Regions from separate parts of the Homo sapiens genome. Here region 1 is linked to region 2. The links are contacts of gene promoters, found by promoter capture Hi-C in human tissues and cell types (Jung and others, 2019). All regions are on one chromosome and are shown on one strand. The core of a region is centred on a gene start or on the middle of the fragment in contact, and the rest is flanking DNA. Distances in the headings are between cores, read along the strand shown.

Region 1 (3,114 bases), core at 8-2,507, 240 kb after region 2:
AATTTATTACAGGAGCAACAGGGAACTCATATAGGAGGCTTTTATGTTTGTGGGGGGACATCTACTAAAATATGCAGGGAGGTGGATTGAGGTGGCCTGAAATCGAGGAGATCAGAGAAGGTGAGTTCTGCTTGGGATGAGTAGAGTTCCTGGTGCCCGTGAGATGCTCAGGGGAGCTGTCCAGAGCACTCTGGTGTGTGTGGCTCTGCAGTAGAGAGATGCTGGGATGACAGGGAAAACTAAGTATATAAATTAATGCAGCTGAAGCCCGGAGAAGGGAGGGCATTTCCTACAGAAAAGGTGCTTGGGGAGGAGAGAAGAGGCATTTCCTTTGGAATATGAGTTTGAGGAATCCTTGGAGGGAGAGGAGTTGAGGAGGCATGGAGCAGTAGGAGGAGACAGTAGGAAGTCTCCTTGGCCCCCTTGGCAGGAGCAGTCTCATGGGCGGAAGCCAGATTGCCATGGATTAAGGTGTCAGTGGGAGGTGAGGAAAGGGAACTAGCAAGGGTGCATGGCTTGTTTTAAAAGTCTGGTTGCCCACTGAGCAATTATTATATGCCAGGTGCATACTGGACACCTCTGGCATCTCATACTCTTCCTCGAAACAGTCCATAGGGTGGGGGTTGCTGCCCCTCTTGTTCTGACGAGGAAACACAGGACTCCCACAGCTGGTCCACAGTAGACCTTGGGTTCCTTCAAAGATAGTGTCCCTCCACCATGTGAGGACTTCCCTTATTGGGAGACATTGCTAATGGGGTGGAGCAGTTAATAGCTACCCTGAGCCAGTTTTGGTTATGTGTCCAGGTTCAACCCAACCTCACATACACAGAGCAACTCCAGAGCACTAGGTCCTGAGCAGGGAGCTCTGGGGATAACAGGGCTGCGTGAGGTTTGCTGTCTGTTCTTATGGAGCCTGTGGTTCAGTTATGAGGAGCAGGGGCCATGGTGGATAGGAGGGGAGGAAGCTTATTCCCAACCAAGTAATACAGAGGCAGAGTATTGCTTGGTGATCGCAGTGCTGCAGAGGGCTGTAGCAGTAGGGAGAGGGGGATTGGTTTCAACAGGGCAGATTGGAGATGGATCTTGTCTTGAAGGATGGATAGACGTTCAACAGAGGAAGCCTATGGCTTCACAGCCTATTGGAAAATTGCAGGAGAAAAAATCTAAGACTGTGCCCAAGGAATGGCTATTAGGATCCCTTTCTGCAGCTGCTAGAGTCTGTACCTTGGGACAGCCCAGCCATGGAAAGTTGAGAATCTTTAAAGCAGATGAACTTTCCCAGGTTGGCTGCCTGGCACAGGTCTACGGTGAGAAGAAAGGAGGAATAGAAGGCCCTGGTGTTTGCAACCTGGTTCTAGACTAGCTCCACCAGTCACGAGTAGGCGTGGCCCCAGTTCAGGAGGTGGGACTGGTGGCCTGGAGGTTATTCCCTCTGAGGTTTCTTCCTAGGGCCTTAGCTGCAGCCAGCAGCCAGCAGCCAGCAGCCAGCAGATGGGCACAGGGAGGCAGTGGTTAGAGGCTGCAAGGCCATATGGGGGCTTTGACCTTTGGGAACCCAAGAGGTGAGAGACATTGAAGGCCTAGAGCCACCAGATGCTTAAAGTGGCTCAAGAAAAGTTCGTGTGTGTGTGTGTGTGTGTGTGTGTGTGTGTGTATGTGTGTGTTGGGCATGGGTTTTTGGCCTCCACTGGGGAAAAGCAGGCGTGAAGAACGGCCCTGCCTGCTCTGCTGATGGGTAGGCCAAATGGTGGGAGAGTACGGGGAAGGTGGGGTGAACAGTGGTGCTGATTTTTGGACCAAGATCTAGAAGCCCCATATCCTAAATAAACTGCCCTCATTTGTCAAGTCCTGTCCCAAAGCCATACTGGATATCATCTTCTTTGGACCTTCTGCCTGCCTGCAAAAGCTCTGGCCCCCATTCAGCACAACACATTTCCCTCCACACTCCCTCCCTCAGTATATGCACTCTACTCTGTAGAAATGATGGTGGTGGTCATGACAAGCATAGCTGTTAATGTTTATTGAGCACTTACTATGTGTCTGGGTCTGTGCTCAGTGCTTTATAGCATAATCTCATCTGATCCTAACAACGCTCCTGTGACATAGGTATTATTCCATCCATTGCACAGCTGAGAAAACTGAGGCCTGGAGAGGATGAGTCATTCTGCACAAAGCTAAACAGCTGGTGAGTCACTGAGCTGGGGTTCAAACCTGTGCAGTCTGACTCCAGAACCTACCCTCTCATTCCGCCTCTTGGCCCTCTAGCCTCCCTTACTTAGCACGCCTCTTCTTACCTCCTTGCCTGGGTAGACTCTATTCTACTCATTCTTCCTGCCCAGCACAAGTTCCCTCTTTGTCTTCGCTTAACCTGGAGGAAAGCTGGCCTGACTTTGGGCAGAGTGGTACAAGGCATGGGCCTGGGTCATAATGGACCGAATGGCCATTTCCACTCCACAACTCTCCTTCGTGGCCTGGCTGACTTGGCAGGAGTTGGACACTCACCTCTGCCTGTCTAGGAAAGACATGCCCCTTGCTCTGCTTTTTCATCCTATTGGAAATTATAAATGCTGTGATTCATTGCCAAGATCACCCAGGCTACCCTCAGACACTGCAGGCCAGGAACCATGCTGCTGGCACGAGGCATTTGGGGGTGCTGCGCAGCCATGTGGTTTGGTAAAGAGGCAGAAGACAGAGGAAGCCAACATGGGATTTTTTGTTTGTTTGTTTTTTTGTTTGTTTGAGATGGAGTTTTGCTCTCGTTACCCAGGCTGGAGTGCAGTGGTACGATCTCAGCTCACCGCAACCTCTGCCTCCTGGGTTCAAGCAATTCTCCTGCCTCAGCCTCCCTAGTAGCTGGGATTACAGGCATGCGCCACCACATCCAGCTAATTTTGTATTTTTAGTAGAGACGGGGTTTCTCCATGTTGGCCAGGCTGGTCTTGAACTCCCGACCTCAAGTGATCCGCCCACCTCAGCCTCCCAAAGTGCTGGGATTACAGGCTTGAGCCACCACACCCGGCCGCGAGCACAGGGTTTCTATGTAAGTTTTTCGTTCAGACCTTGGCTTGTTCCAGAAGGGATTTAGGGTAGCCTAGCAGTATACATAAAATATAC
Region 2 (3,293 bases), core at 644-3,143:
CCTCCACTCCAAATTTGGAAGCACGGAGGAAGTTGACGACATGTGACTGGGAAAGAAGCGGCCATGGCAGGGGCCTCCTGGGATGGTGGGGACAGAGGGGGCCTCAGGAACAAGACGACCCATTTTACAGATGGGACAACAGAAGCCTGGAGAATAGTCTTATTTCCTAACAACCCAACAAGAAAAATCTTTTCTCTCCTTTCTCGAAGTCTGGGGCTGAGGCTAAGGAGCGGACAGTGCCCCCTCCTGGCTCTGCAACAAAACGACCCCCGCGTCCCTGGGATCTGCGGGCCGCAGATCCTGGTCCCCTCTCCACAGGCCGTCAGGGGTGGAGGTCCAAGGGACCACATAGTTGGGGTGGGCAGCCCCGGTGACTTCTCCCCGCAGGCCCGCCCCGTCAAGAAGTTTGTTTGAAAGAAACCAATCAGGAAGTGCAGGGTAGTGGGGCGGTGAGGGGGCCTTGGCCAGCCGCTCTGGGCTTTGGAGGAGCCTGGGGGTTCTTGGCCTCCGCGCTGCTCTTGCCCCAGCCTCCATCTCTCCGGCGGAGAAACCCACTCCCCCCGGGCTCCAGGAAGAGGCGGAAGCCCGAGACTGGGTCAGGGCGAAGGAAGGTAGAGCGAGGGGACCCAAGGCGAGCGCCCCGCCCCGCCCCGCCCAGCGGGGCGCGCCGGGGTGGGCGCGGCGTTCTGGCCCTTCCTCCACACAGCCTCCCCCGGGTAGGTGCGAGTGTTCTGCCCACGGCAGGGGCCCTAACCCACCCAGCGCCCGGCCAGTGGCCCCACACTGTACCCTTCCTGCAGATCGCGCGACTTTGGGGAGAGTGGGGGGCGTCTCCACCTGTGCGTCCCCTACCCACCCCCTAACTGGGCTAAGGCGCGGCCTGGGTTTCTGCCCGCCCCTTTCCAGCCTGGGGACGGGGGACTCTCTCAGCCTCGCCCCTCCCCCTGCAATCTGTCCCTGATGTCCCCGCTCCAGACACTCACCCACTTTCTGAGACCCAGGCCTCAGCGCCGGTGTCCCCCGGCGGTGAGCTCCGAGCCGTTAGGCGGCCCCGGGTTCTCCGGCCCAGGGCCCCTGCCCCCAGGCCCCCACCCCAGAAGGTCGGGCCAGACTTGTGGGCAGCGGGAACTCCGCCACCACCTCCGTCCGCGGCCCTGCGGGGGCAAAGACTGGGGGAACTCGCAAGTTTGCGCCGCGCACTCCTCCTGCCGGGAACAATGGCGGGAGGGGGAGGGGACAGAGAACCGAGCGCGGGGGACCGAGTCAGACCCCGGGGAGACAGAAACTGCTTTCGCTCCGTTTCTCTCCTGCTCTGAAGCAGAAAGCTCGAGCCCGAGAGGCAGTGGCCGAGGACGAAATAAGCAGTCCAGGAGGAGGGCGACCGCGGAGCCGGGGGAGAGGGGAAACCGAGTCAGAGGGAGGGGCGGCGAGGGGAGAGCGCGCAGGGGAGACGGAAGGGGCTGCGGGACGGCGCCTTGGGGAGCTGGGGAGGCGACCCCCTGGGGTCCCAGCGGGCTCAGCGGGTGCCGAGATGTCCCGGGGCGCCCGGTTAGCGCGCGCGGGGTCCCGGCCGCCCCTCTGCGGTCCCGTCGGCCGCAGGAGCCCCGCTGGGTTGCGCTGCGCAGGCGGCGGGCGGCGGGAGGGGAAAGTCCGCGGCTCGGAAGCGGCGGCGGGGAGCAGAACTTACGGGCCTCGCGCGTGCCGGCGCTGGGCTACGTGGAGCTGATGCCAGGCGGAGGCTCCGGGCTCGGACGCCTCACATCGCGCCGCCCGTGCCGGGCCGGGCAGTGCAGGGCAGGGCAGGGCAGGGCAGGGCAGGACAGGGCAGGGCAGGGCAGGGCCGGGCCGGCTGGACTGCGCGCGGCGCCCTGCGCGGCCGGGGCTTACCGAGTCTGGCGGCCCGCGCTGGTCCCTCCTCTCGGTTCCGCGCACAAGCCAATGGCGCGCCGTCCCCTCCCACGCGCCGGGCTGCCTCGCCCCCAGGGTGGCCGCCGGGGCGGGCGGGATGGGGGTTGGCGGGGAAACCAGGCTCCCGGCTCCCCCGCGAGGCTCTCCCGGGGGCCGCCTGCAGGGGGCGCACGCGCGCCCGAGAGAAGGCGCCGGGGGAGGAAGCCGCGCGGGGAGACCCTGGCGTGGCCCGCGCCGCCCAGGATGACTTTCCTGGCAAGTTCTGCAGACGGTGCCCCTTTCTTGGGACGATCAACGTAGATGGGCAAACCACACCATCTTAAATAGCCTTGCGGTGTCTCCCGGGCCCAGGCCGGTGCCTGAAATGGAAGGGACTGCTTTGGCTGGCGGTGATACCCAAGTGTGTAATAACACAGTCACGACAATAGTCACCGTTTGCTGCGCACTCTCTGATGCCAGACACCATATGCTAAAGGAGTTACAAGTATTAACTCATTTGATTTTCACAGCAACCCATAAGGGCGCTGTGCTTAGTCCCATTTTACAGGCCATGGTCGTTAAAGTTTGAGTTCACTCAGCCTTCAGGCTTCCAGCCTAGGCCCACCCTTCTCTCTCCCTGCTTGGTGTGACTTGGCCAAATAACATGACCCCACTGTCACTACGGCCACCTTCTTCATACTCCACCCTAAAATCCAGCCTCAGAGATGCTGCTGTCAGTTGCGCTGTCAGGAGGCTAGGATCTTATCTGGGGCTCTAGGACGCTTGTTGGCGCTACAGTTGTCAAACCTTTTGTCTCTACACATCCTATGGGGGGCTGGGGTGAGGATGAGGGTTGGGGGTCATGGAGGCTCTCTGGTGGCGTGTCAACCTGAGAGAACCAGGCTCCTACAGACAAGGCCCCACCCCCAAATTCTGGGCTCCTTCAACCCCTTATGGTGGGAAAATAATGTGCTCTCTCCCACCCCAACCCCCACCACCCTGTGCTCTCCTTAGAGAAATGCCTGGATCTCTTTCATCTGATCTGATGGTCACAGTGGGCCAGGAACCGGGGTGGGGGGCTGCGGGAAAAGGAAGGCAAGGCTGATGACATGCTCCATTTCACAAGTAAATAAGACAGAAAGAGGTGAGTGGCTGCCTCAGGCATCTAGCTAGGTGGGCATTCTGACTCCAGGTCTCGGTTCTGTCTGCACCAGTTCCTTAACGGTTAATAGAGCAGGCTCTGGAACCAGATCACCTAGGTTCAAATCCTGACTCTGCCTTTTAGTGCCTGTGTGGCCTTGGACAAAGTAAGTCACCTAGAGCAACCAATAGTAAGAACCGGCTATGGTTGCTGTAGAGATTTAGAGTTAATAGGAGCTGCTCATGTTTACTGTGCATGGACTCTG

Evidence for each region. The method cuts DNA at HindIII sites, captures the fragments that hold promoters and counts their contacts. A contact is called where the count stands out against the background at its distance.
Region 1: a fragment that was not itself captured here is called in contact with the fragment with the promoter of TP53I11 in region 2 in 2 of the 25 tissues and cell types used here (heart left ventricle and thymus).

Annotation. Positions count from the first base shown.
Region 1 is chr11:45,186,180-45,189,293 of GRCh38, forward strand. The region is part of intron 4 of PRDM11 (PR/SET domain 11); the gene reads left to right. Among named protein-coding and RNA genes, the nearest start is that of PRDM11, 41 kb to the left of the region's middle. The HindIII fragment of the contact is 7,766 bases long and covers 1-3,114 here.
Region 2 is chr11:44,948,990-44,952,282 of GRCh38, forward strand. It overlaps TP53I11 (tumor protein p53 inducible protein 11), which reads right to left and starts at 1,894. Exons shown (of 7, transcript NM_006034.5): 1 at 1,688-1,894. RefSeq lists silencers at 1,664-1,793, 1,824-2,083. The HindIII fragment of the contact is 16,895 bases long and covers 1-3,293 here.